5 separate regions of the Homo sapiens genome follow, and regions 1, 2, 3 and 5 are each linked to region 4. The links are contacts of gene promoters, found by promoter capture Hi-C in blood cells and fetal thymus (Javierre and others, 2016). All regions are on one chromosome and are shown on one strand. Each heading gives the region's core, a stretch centred on a gene start or on the middle of the fragment in contact. The rest is flanking DNA. Distances are from core to core; before and after follow the strand shown.

Evidence for each region. The method cuts DNA at HindIII sites, captures the fragments that hold promoters and counts their contacts. A CHiCAGO score of 5 or more calls a contact.
Region 1: a fragment that was not itself captured here is called in contact with the fragment with the promoter of ATP6V1E1 in region 4 in 3 of 17 cell types (neutrophils, total CD8 T cells and total CD4 T cells); the score reaches 10.4 in neutrophils.
Region 2: a fragment that was not itself captured here is called in contact with the fragment with the promoter of ATP6V1E1 in region 4 in 1 of 17 cell types (total CD8 T cells); the score reaches 5.3 in total CD8 T cells.
Region 3: a contact is called between a fragment that was not itself captured here and the fragment with the promoter of ATP6V1E1 in region 4, in 1 of 17 cell types (naive CD8 T cells). The highest score is 5.9, in naive CD8 T cells.
Region 5: a contact is called between the fragment with the promoter of MICAL3 here and the fragment with the promoter of ATP6V1E1 in region 4, in 1 of 17 cell types (erythroblasts). The highest score is 5.3, in erythroblasts.

What each region holds. Positions count from the first base shown.
Region 1 is chr22:17,129,327-17,132,026 of GRCh38, forward strand. LINC01664 (long intergenic non-protein coding RNA 1664) reads left to right here. Exons shown (of 4, transcript NR_103793.1): 3 at 1,036-1,158; 4 at 2,289-2,700. Among named protein-coding and RNA genes, the nearest start is that of LINC01664, 9.1 kb to the left of the region's middle. The HindIII fragment of the contact is 7,377 bases long and covers 1-2,700 here.
Region 2 is chr22:17,220,934-17,223,633 of GRCh38, forward strand. It overlaps a transcript of ADA2 not described here. Among named protein-coding and RNA genes, the nearest start is that of ADA2, 2.8 kb to the left of the region's middle. The HindIII fragment of the contact is 1,511 bases long and covers 587-2,097 here.
Region 3 is chr22:17,193,476-17,196,175 of GRCh38, forward strand. All of the region lies in intron 4 of ADA2 (adenosine deaminase 2), which reads right to left. Among named protein-coding and RNA genes, the nearest start is that of ADA2, 25 kb to the right of the region's middle. RefSeq lists an enhancer at 1,845-2,360. The HindIII fragment of the contact is 7,135 bases long and covers 1-2,700 here.
Region 4 is chr22:17,627,306-17,630,005 of GRCh38, forward strand. ATP6V1E1 (ATPase H+ transporting V1 subunit E1) reads right to left here and starts at 1,444. Exons shown (of 9, transcript NM_001696.4): 1 at 1,298-1,444. The coding sequence starts at 1,330. It also overlaps a transcript of BCL2L13 not described here. RefSeq lists enhancers at 1,139-1,288, 1,369-1,458, 1,400-1,569. The HindIII fragment of the contact is 8,319 bases long and covers 1-2,700 here.
Region 5 is chr22:18,023,254-18,025,953 of GRCh38, forward strand. MICAL3 (microtubule associated monooxygenase, calponin and LIM domain containing 3) reads right to left here and starts at 1,308. Exons shown (of 32, transcript NM_015241.3): 1 at 1,028-1,308. RefSeq lists a silencer at 1,036-1,445. The HindIII fragment of the contact is 4,064 bases long and covers 1-2,602 here.

The DNA.
Region 1 (2,700 bases), core at 73-2,572, 500 kb before region 4:
CAGCAACATGTAACATAACCAACTTGGTTTTATCCCAGGGATGAAAGAAAGAGTTAAAGATGACAACAGGCTGGGCATAGTGACTCACGCCTGTTATCCCAACATTCTAGAGGCCAAGGTGGGAGGAGCGCTTGAAGCCCAGGAGTTTGAGAGCCGCCTAGGCAACATGGCAAGACCTCACCTCTACAAAAAATTAAACAATAAAATTAGCTGGGGTGTGGTGGCACATACCTGTAGTCCCAGCTACTTGGGAGGCTGAGGCGGGAGAATTGTTTAAGCCCGGGAGGTCGAGGCTGCCGTGAGCCAGGACTGCACAACTGTACTGCAACCTGGGTGACAGAGAGAGACCCTGTCTCCAAAAAAAAAAAAAAAAAAAAAGATAAAAACAAAATATATTAATATGGTTTACCATATTAACAGATTAAAGGAGAAGAACACTTAAGATCAACTCAACAAATACAGAGAAACAAACATTTAATATCTATTCATGAATTTCAACAAAAATTGAGCAAAACAAAATTTTTTGCTCTATTGGTCTTGCTCTGTTGTCCAGACCAGAGTGCAGTGGCACAATCATAGTTCACTGCAGGTTTGAATCCTGGGCTCAAGCAACCCTCCTGCCTCAGCCTTCCAAGTAGCTGTGACTACAAGCATGTGCCACCACGCCCAGCTATTTTTTTGTTTGTTTGTAGAGAGAGGGTCTCCCCATGTTGCCCAGGCTAGTCTCAAACTCCTGGACTCAAGAGATCCTCCTGCTTCTGCCTCCCAGAGTGCTGGGATTATAGGTGTAAGCCACCAAGCCTGGCCAGAATTTCTTTATTCCTAGTAAATAGTAATATGGCAACAGAGACAGACTAGATGCTGTTCAATCCCATTTCCTCTTCCTAGACAGAGAAAGACCACATTTCCCATCCTCTTTGCAGTCACATTAGAACCATGTGGCTAGCCAATAAACATGCACACATGTGGCACCCACCACAGCCTGGTTCGGCCATAAATCCCTTCACAGTTATCCATTCACACTCTCTCCCACAGACCTTGGACCCATGTGTGGAAGATGACAGCATCACCAACTGGAGGGTGCCTGGATCCCTGAGTCACCACTTGAAGCAAAAAGGTCAAGAGTAGCCACCTGACCCATATCAGGCTATGAAATGAGTAAGAAAGAAAGATTTTGTGAGGCCACATTTTCATACATGTGTAGGTCTGTTTCTGGGTACTCTCCTTTGTGCCATTGGTTTGTGTCTCTCCCTCTGCCAGTAGTACAGTGTCTTAATTACTGTAACTTCATAAAAATGTTTGATATCTGATAGGCAAGTCCAGGGTCAAGACAGGATGAATTCCTCTAGAACAAGGGAATTTCTCGTTTCTTTTCTTTCTTTCTTTTTTTTTTTTTTTTTTTGAGATGGAGTCTCACTCTGTCATCCAGGCTGGAGTGCAATGGTGCAATCTCGGCTCACTGCAACCTCCGCCTCTCGGTTTCAAGTGATTCTCCTGCCTCAGCCTCCCGAGTGGCTGGGACTACAGGCACGTGCCACCTGCCTGGCTAATTTTTGTTTTGTTTTGTTTTGTTTTTAGTAGAGATAGGGTTTCACTATGTTGGCCAGGCTGGTTTCAAACTCCTAACCTCAAGTGATTCGCCTGCCTCGGCCTCCCAAAGTGCTGGGATTACAGGCGTGAGCCACCGAGCCCGGCCCTCATTTCTTAACACTGCATTTGGTAGGAGAGCAACAGTCATTTATATGTGAATAAATGAAGCCGAAAGAGGAAGTTAGAAAGACCAAAGGGGCCGGGCGCGGTGGCTCCCGCCTGTAATCCCAGCACTTTGGGAGCCCGAGGCAGGCGGATCACGAGGTCAGGAGATGGAAACCATCCTGGCTAACACAGTGAAACCCCGTCTCTACTAAAAATTAAAAAAATAAAATTAGCCGGGGGTGGTGGCGGGTGCCTGTAGTCCCAGCTACTGGGGAGGCTGAGGCAGGAGAATGGCGTGAACCCGGGGGGCGGAGCTTGCAGTGAGTCGAGATCGTGCCACTGCACTCCAGCCTGAGCAACAGAGCGAGACTCCGTCTCAAGAAAAAAAAAAAAAAGAAAGACCAAAGGAAGAAGCAGACAAGAAAGGAAGAAGGAACACCCCTCCCCTCTCCAAAGAGACAGCTCCAGGAACGCCAAGGCTGCTCGCCTAGGGATGCAGAGCCAGAAAGCTCAAATCAGAGGGGGAGGAGGTAGGGAAGGAGTTTCAAGCTAGACTCCTATTCTCTCTCTCCATCCCCTCTCACCCCAAAAAGAGAGAAAATGACACGAGGCTTTGGAACCAAGAGCTGGAGGAACCTGGAAGCGAAAGCTGAGGCTGTCGGCTGCCCAGCAGTTAACACCCTGAGACCATCTTCCCACTTCCAACACCCACAGAAGCTGCCACCCAAGGGCCCCTGTGTCCCCGCATGGCCCACCTCAGCAGTATGATGCAGCACTGGGGAAGTGACAGAATGTGAAAAAAACTATTATAGCTGAGATATTTTAAAATTCCGCCCTCCAGGCAGCATCTGGTTGCTACAGCAACCCCAGCTCTGCAGGGTGTCCCGATTACCAGCAGGCTCCCTGCACCTGCCTCAGGCTGAGAGCAGGCGGCTGCCGCCAAGGGGAACACCAAGGAAATGCCCATGTTCTGATTCCAAGGTAATGGCTCAGACCCAAGGGGAT
Region 2 (2,700 bases), core at 92-2,591, 410 kb before region 4:
GAGGCCGAGGCAGGTGGATCACAATGGAAGGGGTTCGAGACCAGCCCCTACTAAAATACAAAAATTAGGTGTGGTGGTGCGCACCTGTAATCCCAGCTACTTGGGAGGCTGAGGCAGGAGAATTGCTTGAACCCTGGAGGTGGAGGTTGCAGTGAGCTGAGATTGCACCATTGCACTCCAGTCTGGATGACAGAGTGAGATTTTGTCTCAAAAAAAAAAAAAAGAGTTTAACACTAATTTTTTGAAAGTTAGAGGAAGCAGAATGCACCGCAAGTAATAAGGAGAAACAAGATTGATTCCAGCGCCGCACAAAGGGAAACCACCAATTCTGAAAGTAAATCATGTGAAGGGTTTTTTGTGGGTTTTTTTTATACTTTAAGTTCTAGGGTACATGTGCACAATGTGCAGGTTTGATACATAGGTATACCTGTGCCATGTTGGTTTGCTGCACCCATCAACACATCATTTACATTAGGTATTTCTCCTAATGCTATCCCTCCCCCAGCCCCGACCCCCCCGACAGGCCCTGGTGTGTGATGTTCCCCTTGAAGGGTTTTTTTAAAGACCAGGTCAAAGCTAAAGATCAAGCTTTTCTTTCCAAACGCTTTAGCTAAAAGTAGGAGCTAATTTTCACATCTCCGAAGGTGGCTCCAGGACTCCAAGTCACACCTTGGCAAGGGTGTGGCAGCTGGCAGAGGACTGCAGGTCCTTGTCAGGCAGAACCTGCCGGGTTCTGGGGAGTGGAGACTCAGATCTTGAGGTGGAAGCAGAGACAAGAGCTGGGCACACTTACCTGGATGTGGGGTTGGGAGCGGTGAATCAGAGCCCAGTTAGATCCTGGAGGCTGGCAGCAGGCTCTGCAGAGGTGCAGGGGCACCTCATTCAGAAGGGGCCATTTATTGGCCCTCTGTGGCTAAAACCAGCTCCAAGCAGGACTTTTTATGGCTGGAGTCGCCTCCAAAGGGGCGTCGGCCTCCACTCAGGTGTGACTCTGAGCGTTGCCTAGCTGAAAAGGCGTGATGATAGGGAGCACACGTGAGGCCATTCGGGAAGAATATTTTGCCAAGTGCAGAGGCCGTAAAAACGTGGAACATGGCTCTGTTTTTTATGCTCTATTGAAAATGATCATCAGAAGCAGAAACTGGGCTTGTGTTCAGAACCTGAAAATCTGCAGGGCAGAAAAACAGGACAAAGGCATCTTTTAGTGACTGCAAAACTAAACCTCAACAGAAAGATGCCTGAAGAGACAGGTGGATTATGACCTCAGAATTGGAGACAGGAGAGGTTTTCAGAATTAAAGATCATCTATGGCTACACAAACATTTGAGAGGTATTTTCATTAAAACATCCCTTTCTTCACACCAATATCATGAATTATATGCTATGCACAACCTATAACAGAGTATAGCAGAGTTACCAGTGGTTTAAAGTGCTGCATATATGATTGTTATATGAGGTAAATAAGATTCTCTGACCCAGAGTTAAGAAAATGGAAATAATAATTGCTAAGGCATATTAAGAATTATATATGTATGTGTGTGTGTATATATATATATATATATATATATATATATATATATATATATATATAACATTTAATCCCTACAGCAATACATACCTATAAATGAGTATATACAAATATGTGTGTGTATGTGTGTGTGTGTATATATACTCATTTAATCCTTGCAGCAATCTTATAAGGTAGGGACTATTGCAATCCCCACTTGAGAGAGGCGTACCCTGAAGCACCTGGCAGTAAGGTAACTTGCCCAAGGTCACACAGCTAGTAACAAGCATAGCACGGCCTTGCAGGCCCAGGTGGGTTCCACCACACCGCTTTCCCTGGCAGCAAGAAAATGGAAGGTTTTTGAAGTAGTGGGGGAGTCACCGGGCACAAGGAAGCAGATCCCTGGAGGAACACACAATTAGCAAAAGTGGAGCCCAGGAATAGACGTTACCAGGCATAAGTGATTTTTCCAGACACTGGGAACTTGTGTTTTGAAACACCAAAGTATTTTTAGGAAGCAGAAAAGTTAGCTCTTTCATTGAACTGCTATGTGGTTTTGAAGAAAATGTCCTAATATCCATAAAACTCAAAGCTTTAATCTGCAAGAAGGAAAAAATGTCATGTGCCTCCTACTAAGTTTTTTTTTTCTAAGTAAGTTTTTTGTGTGTGTGTATGTATGAAATAATATATGTGAAAATTTTTTTTTGAGACAGAGTCTCGCTGTGTCACCTAGGCTGGAGTGCAGTGGCACAATCTTGGCTGTCTGCAGCCTCTGCCTCCCAGTCTCAAGCAATTCTCTGCCTCAGCCTCCCGAGTATCCAGGATTACAGGCACCTGCCACCATGCCTGGCTAATTTTTTTTTTGTATTTTTAGTAGAGACGGGGTTTCACCATCTTGGCCAGGCTGGTCTTGAACTCCTGACCTCGTGATCCACCTGCCTCAGTCTTCCAAGTGCTGGCATTACAGGCGTGAGCCACTGTGCCTGGCTGAAAATATTTTTAAAACTATAAAGCAACTATACAATTACACAGCATAAATGATTTTCATTTTTCTTTTTTTTTGAGAAGGAGTTTCACTCTTATTGCCCAGGCTGGAGTGCAGTGGCATGATCTCGGCTCACCACCACCTCCGCCTCCCGGGTTCAAGTGATTCTCCTGCCTCAGCCTCCCGAGTACCTGGGATTACAGGCATG
Region 3 (2,700 bases), core at 1-2,500, 430 kb before region 4:
CCAATATGGTGAAACCTCGTCTCTACTAAAAATACAAAAATTAGCCGGGTGTGGTGGTGCGTGCCTGTAGTAGTCCCAGCCACTCGGGAGGCTGAGGCAGGATAATCGCTTGAACCCAGGAGGCAGAGGTTGCTGTGAGCCAAGATCGCGCCATTGCACTCCAGCCTGGGTGACAGAGCGAGACTCCACCTTAAAAAAAAACTAAAAAAAAAAAAAAAAGATGTGGGAATTTCTGCAGAGACTGTGGGGTGAAGGAGACAGGGAGCAATAATATGGAGATGTCGATTACTTCCATGGCATCAGTTAAGCCCTTATGATATAAAAGGAACAGGGCTGGGCATTGGAAGGGATGAAAAAATGCTAATAGACAAGATAGCTGCCCTCAGGAGTGACAATAGGGTCAGAGAGATAGACCTGACCCACTAAAAAGAGCTCACGCCTGTAATCCCAGCACTTTGGGAGGCCGAGGCAGGAGGATCACTTGAGCCCAGGAGGTCAAGACCAGCCTGGGCAATGAGTGAGTTCCTGTCTGTAAAAAGGAATGAAAAAAAAAAAAAAAAGAAACAATAGAATAAGTGCTAAAGAGAAGCACATGACCTCTCAAAAGAAGAAGCAGTTTGTTGTGACTGGATGGGTCAGAGAAGGTTGCTAGTCCTGACCAAGGGAATGGTGGCTCCACACAGAGTCAAGAGCTGCCTGGGGGCGGGGGTTCAAGGAGCCGAGGTTGAGAGCTGCAGTGGGAGCCAGGAGCTGTCCCCTCACTAAGGGAGAAATGCCCTTCCTCCTCCCGGGAGTCGGCTCTTGCCTCTGTGGCATCTCAGGAAATGGGCCCTTGGGAGTCCACCTCCTCTGCTCATTTCCCACCAGCCCCTTGCCTCACTCCTGTCTCCCCAGCCTAGGGGCCTCCCACACCCCTCCAGGCTGCGGCCATTGTGTGTCCTTTGTCTCTGGGCAGTCCCTCAGATCCCCGCATTCCCCCAGGCCTGCAGAACAGTACTGCTGCTCTCTCATCTCCAGGGTGCTGCCCCGCTGCCTGGGCAGGCGCAGTGGGGGAGCAGGCAGTGAGGCTCTCCACTGGTCTTTGCTCTTCTGTTTCCTCTGCTGCCCCCATGAAGCCTGGCACGTCACACAGCCCCCCACAACCTGCACCTGGCCAGGCCACTCACTCTGCTCGGGCAGTTTCCCTGACTGCCTGACCTGGCACAGCCATGCTCAGGGGCTACTGAACTTTAAGGCTGCCAGAGCGTGCCAGAAGGAAGAACCTTAGGTACTGTTCATTCAGGATCTAGTATTGTCTATTATTATTATTATTTACTGAAGAGGGTCAGAATATGTCACCCAATAGGCCACTTTAGCAGAAGAAATATTTTTAGCTGAAGGCAATTAAGAAGCAGCAAATGAAGAAAGAGCTCTTTGCCCACCTCATCTGCCTAAATTTCCCTTTGTGAAGGTGTCGCCCTCCCCTCTCCCGTACCAGGAGAATCACCCTTACCACCGGAAACAGAAAGTTGTTACCAAGATGGGTCTGCACAAACCAGCCTTATAAAATTGCCCTTATCTTCCATTAGTTTCCCCCATATGTTTGCCTGCCCACAATTTACTGTCCCTAGAAGCCCAAACCCCTTTTCCTTCATCTTGTCACTTCTTCACAATTTATTACCAGTTGTTAAAATGGAATATAAGCCCTCACTCTAACTTCTTTGGTGCTTCACGTCTTTTCAAGGAAGGCCTGCATCTATCTGTGCACATAGCAAATTCTTAGGCCGGGTGTGATGGCTCATGCCTGTAATCCCAGCACTTTGGGAGGCGGAGGCAGATCACCTCGGGCAAATCACCTGAGGTCAGGAGTTGGAGACTATCCTGGCCAACATGGTGAAACCTCATCTCTACTAAAAATACAACAATTAGCCGGGCGTGGTGGTGGGCGCCTGTAATCCCAGCTACTGGGGAGGCTGAGGCAGGAGAATCGCTTGAACCCGGGAGTTGGAGGTTGCAGTGAGCTGAGATCGCGCCACTGCACTCCAGCCTGGGCGACAGAGCAAGACTCCGTCTCAAAAAAAAACAAAACAAAACAAAAAAATTTTTTTAAACTTTTATTTTGCAACAGTCTTGCCGTGTCGTCCAGGCTGGAGTGTGGTGGTGCAATCTTGGTTCACTGTCTGTTTCACTCTTATTCTCTCATGGATGTACAGTAGAATTTTCCTGAAGCTGCATCATGTGTCATATCATTCTGACCGATAATGCCAATCATGGATTATGTGTTTGTATTTAGAATAATTTCTTTCCTTTTTTTTTTTTTTTTTGAGACGGAGTCTCGCTCTGTCACCCAGGCTGGAGTGCAGTGGTGCGATCTCGGCTCACTTTAACCTCCACCTCCTGGGTTCAAGCACGACTCCCGAGTAGCTGGGATTACAGGCACATGCCACCACGCCTGGCTATTTTTTTGTATTTCTGGTAGAGACGGGGTTTCGCCATGCTGGTCAGGCTGGTCTTGAACTCCTGACCTCATGATCTGCTCGCCTCAGCCTCCCAAAGCGCTGGGATTACAGGCATGAGCCACTGCGCCCGGCAAGAAAATTTCTTAATTTTGGCTGGGTGCAATAGCTCACACCTGTAATCCCAGCACTTTGGGGGGCCAAGGCGAGTGGATCACCTGATGTCAGTTGACCAGCCTGGCCAACATGGTGAAACCCCTTCTCT
Region 4 (2,700 bases), core at 194-2,693:
TTTAATAGAGATGGGGTTTCACCATGCTGGCCAGGCTCGTCTCGAACTCCTGACCTCAGGTGATCCGCCCTCCTCAGCCTCCCAAAGTGCTGGTATTACAGACGTGAGCCACCATGCCCGGCCCCAGCCTGTATCTCACAAATGTTAACACACACATTAGTGGGAGACCAATCATTACAATCCATTATGATAGAGGGGACTTCCCCAAAATGAAGATTAACAGTACATACAGGCCTGGCGCGTTGGCTCATGCCTGTAATCCCAGCACTTTGGGAGGCCCAGGTGGGAAGATCACCTGAGGTCAGGAGTTCAAGACCAGCCAGGCCAATATGGTGAGACCCTGCCTCTACTAAAAAAAATACAAAAATTAGCCGGGCTTGGGGCGCGAGTCTGTAATCCCAGCTTCTAGGGAGGCTGAGGCAGGAGAATCACTTGAACCCGGGGCGGAGGTTGCAGTGAGCCGAGATCGCGCCCTTGCACTCCAGCCTGGGCGACAGAGTGAGACTCCGTCTCAAAAAAAAAAAAAAGAAAAAAAGAAAAAAACACAGTTCATAAAGTGAACGACCTTGTCAAAACACTGGTTGGAAGCAGGTCTCTTCCCTCCGCACTGTTTCCTATCATATAGCCTTAAGCATTTCCCTCAGGGTTAAAAAAAAAAAAAGTGACAAGGCTGGTTTGTTTTTTTTTTTTCTTTTTCCAGAGGGAGTCTCGCCCTGTCGCCCATGCTGGAGTGCAAAGGCGCGATCTCGGCTAACTGCAACCTCCGCCTCCGGGTTCAGCTTCCCGAGTAGCTGGGATTACAGGCGCGCGCCACCACGTCCGGCTAATTTTCTATTTTTAGTAGAGACCGGGGTTTCACCATTTTGGCCAGGCTAGTCTCGGACTCCTGACCTCAGGTGATCCGGCCGCCTCGGCCTCCCAAAATACTGGGATTACAGGCGTGAGCCACTGCCCCTGGCCACAAGGCTGTTTTCAATCCTTGCACAGATCTCTGTCCGACTAGGCACAGTGAATACCCTTGGAAAACAGGGAATGCTGAGGTGGGAGGCAAAGAGCCAGGGCGTTCAAGAAGGCAGCGCGCAGGCAAGCGGGCAGTGCCCAAGACCCGAGCAAAAGTCACATGAGCTGCGGGGCAAATCTCCGTCCTCAGGCCGACCTCTTGGATCTGGTGACTTGGAGCAAGGGACCTTCCTGCGGCATCTGGGCGGCTCAAGGCCCGCGGCCTTCCCTAGGCGGGCTCCAGCCCACTCCCCGGGACTGCCGCCGCGGCTTCGTAAGACCCAACCAAGCCCCTCACCTGCTTTTGCACGTCAGCATCGCTGAGAGCCATGGCGAGAGCAATGCTAGGCCGGTGAACAGTAGGCTCGAGTTTAGGTTTGAAAGGTGAGGTGAGAGAAATCGGCAAAGGGAACCCCTGCGCAGATCTCGGGTTCCTTTACTTTATAACCGCGGGTTCCGGTTCCTGCCAGGTGACTGCACAGTTCATCCTCATGACCCTTCTCAGCCAATGGGAAGAGAGCGACGCCCAGGAAGTCCCGCCCTGTCCCGGCCTGTGGGCGCGTCCTCGGGTCCTTCTACGTCGCTGACTCGTGACCTGACCGGTATTTTTTTCCTAAACTGGGATCTTGGGTAGGAGGAAGAAAAGATAAGGAGTTCCTCTATCTGAAATTAGTCGGGCTGTTTTGAGGAGTACTGGTTAGGTATATTGGAGAATGTGCCTTTATTGGAATTTTTCGCATAATTACACAGGGTTATGGGCTTAGGGGTACATGATTGTTGGCCGGGCGTGGTGGCTCACGCCTGCAATCCGGAGACTTTGGGAGACCAAGGCGGGTGTATCGCTTGACCTCAAGTTCGAGACCAGGCTGGACAACATAGAGGAACCCCGTCTCTACCAAAAGAAAAAAAAAAGGGGGATACATGATTTCTGACTATTCATGTCAACCTTGATTACCTGAATAAAGTGTAGGGTTTGTAGGTTTCTCCACTCTGAAGTTACCTTTTTTAACCCCCTTTCCATACTGTAGTCTTAGGAAGGAAGCCACTATACAAAGCCCACACCTAGGGAGTGGGAAGCTATGCTCAACTTCCTTATTAGGGTGGAGCAGCTACATAATTTATTTGGAACTTTTCTGAGATAGCCTATATATTTTTCAAAAGCCTTCCCAGGTCCCATTTAGAGGAATATTAGGACAGAAATCCCCCCAGGCTCATTTGTTTTTATTTGGATTTACCTCAAGCCCGTTTTTTTCCCCAAAATCCCAAAGGCAAAAACTTTTGAAAATTCCTTTATCTTTAGGATAGACTGACTCCTAATAGTAGAATAAGAGGTCAAATGGTACACCCACTTTTTTCTTTTTACTGTGCTATGGTTACCCACCATTTTTATTAGCTTTTTATCTTGAAGAAATTTGAGATATAGTAACTTGTAAGAATACTGCATTGACCTCCCTTCACCTAGATTCAACAATTGTTAACATTTTGCTACATGTACATTAACACTTTATTTTCATACACACACACACACACACACACACACACACTTCCTATTTTAGTGTGTCATAAGAACGAGGATGTAGCAAATTCAGGAAATTTAGTTTACTAGGCTGAACATTAATTTCCTTTGTCCCGGGCCAGGCGCGGTGTCTCACGCCTGTAATCCCACCACTTTGGGAGGCTGAGGTGGGCAGATCACCTGAG
Region 5 (2,700 bases), core at 58-2,557, 400 kb after region 4:
TAAAAAATCCCAGTGTTTGGGCCATATCCCAGACCAATTAAGTCAGAATCTCCAGGGATTGGACCCAGGTAGCAGGATTTCTAAAAATCTCCCCAGCAGCCAGGCCTGAGAGCTAATGAATAGCACCACAGGGCCCAGCCTTTCAGCCTACAGCTTGTCTCGGTTTCACCCTTTTTTCATTTCTTTACAATGAAAATTCTAAATAGTTGATCACAGTGCCAGACCAATAAGAAAGCATTTTAGGGAGGAGAGAGGAGGGAAGGGGTTGGCAGGCACGGAGAGGACTTGACACACAGAAAGCATTTTGCTATGGAGTCATAACCATTTGATTCTAAGACACATGCAGCCTCCAGAAGTCATGCGGCCCCGCCCTCTGCTTCCAGGAGGGAATGAACTTGGCCGTCCTTTTGTTGCACACGCCCGGGAGCTGCGCCGGCGCAGCGCGCCCTGCAGCCTGGGAGCGCAAGCGTGTGCGCCACTGGTCCTGGGCCACCACCGCGCGCCGCGGGCGGGTGCAGGGCCCCTCTGCCGCAGGGAAACCGGCGTTCCCCGCGCAAAGCAGCCGCTGCTCCTAATGAGCTCATGGGTTCACCGCGCTGAGCTAGCCAGAGCGGACCCGGCTTCGCCAAGGGCCTGCTGGCTGTCCTGACACCTGGCCTACCTCGGGGGTGCCTGGGTACGCTCTTCCTTTGCCTGCGGGATAGAAGCACAATGAAAATGGGGTGGACGTGGCTGGGAGACAGCCCTGCTCTCTGGCAGGCTCTGGGGAGTGTGTGGTACGTGGCATCCGCACTGGTGGGTGTCGTGCGATGATCGAGACACGGATACTGGGTGTCTTTCCCACTAGGGGAGAGAGGGCTGCGTTTAGAGGGAAACGAAATAGATCCGAGAAACACAAAGATGTCACAAAGGAAACGCTTCCCCACCATAAGCAATCTAAATAAATGATTCTTAGAAGACATCCAGCAAAACACATAACCTTGTCATTTAGATTCGCTCGCCCACAGGGGGACTGGAGGGTACTCACCGACTAGGGCTTCACAGCCGCATCACCGCCGGCGGTGGGCGCCTGCCTCGGCAGGGGCAGGGTGGGTGCCCGCAGGGCACAGGTGCCGCCGTGGCTGCTCGCACAACCCCTGCAGCTGCGATCCCGCCCAGTTAGCCTCGGGGGCTGCACAGCCCAGCCCCCTCGCCCAGGGCCCAGGGGTTCTCAGGCCGCGCGGCGAGGACGGAGGGCTGCCCCGGGTGCCTGCCTACGCGGGCGCTCCCCGCCGGGACTCCGCCGGGGCTGCAGGAGCGCGCGCTGCTGGCTGGGCGGGCTGCGGCTCCGCGCGAGCGCCGTGGCAACGCGAGCGGGCGCCCCCAGGAGGCCGCGGAGCTGCGGCGTGGGACGCTTGGGTGAGGCTCAAGCCAAAACCAAACCCAAACCATTTCTCCTCCTCCCCATCTTTTCATTTTCTCCCCTTCTTTTCATTTTCTCCCCTTCTCCAACCCCTTCCTCGACACACGTTACTAGCACCTCGAAGGTTGGAAATTCCAGCACTCTCCTGAGGCCTCTTCCCCAGCGAATCCTGCTAACCACGCAGTCGGTGTTCGCTGTGTGTTCGAGCACACACCTCCTTGCAGTGGCTTCAGCACCCAGGTCTCCGGGAGCCAGTGAAGGAACCAAGTGTTGGATACTGAGCAAGTCGCGTAACATCTGAGTAGTCGTGAAATTGAAATTTCAACGGTATAAAGGACACGACGTTGTCTTACAGATTGAAAAATGCTATAAAATGAAGTTCTTACTGTTACTATGATGATGACCCTGGAGATCAGCGCAGAGCCCTGGGGGAGGGCTACAGTTGCAAGCGCTCCAAGGATCAGATCGCGCACTCCTCCCCACCGGAGAAAACCTCTTGATGCCGGAGCCCGGGCAGCCTCTTCCACACTTCCAGCCAGCCCCTTCCACACTTCCAGCCAGCCCCGGCATTGCCACAGCCCGTGGAGCTGGACAGAAATCCACCAGGCACTAAAATAAGTTAGATGGAAGACGGGATGGATTTGACCAAATTCCTATCAGCATCTGCTCAGTATAATTGCAACATTATAATCAGAGCAGAAAGAAGCCCAGAGATTATTTTGTCTTCAAGGATCATTGGCCTCAGTATTATCTCCATCTGAAGCTGTGTTGTCCAAAGCAGATTGACTCCAGCCGGCCAGCTCAGAAGAGGGCCGACTCTGGGCTGGCGACTCCTTGAGAAGGGCTCTCTCTGGTCCCAGGTGGTATTTACTTAACCGTATCATCATCTGCTTCATTCGTGTTCCCTTCATGTCCATCATGTGAGGACGGGAACTGACAGGGCCAGGGTGTCGGCTCAGAGGCAATCTCTGCTCATCCTCTAGAGCCCCACTTCATCACCCAGCCACTCTGTCCACTGTCTCCCCACCTACAAACCTGCAGGTGTTCTGCCCCAGTACTAGAATAAGGGAACACATTTTTACTGAGCTCTGACAATGTGACTGGGCTTTTCAGGAGCTATTTCATTTAATTTTTAATGTAAAACATTGTTTTACATATTAAGAACCTAAAAGCACAAACAGTAAGTAACTTGCTTGTGGAAGCTTATGCAGCGAGATAAGTGGTAAAGCTGCAATTCCCAGTTTTGTTTGATGCCACAGCTGAAGGTGCAAGGCCATCTGGGCACGGCCTGAGTGGAT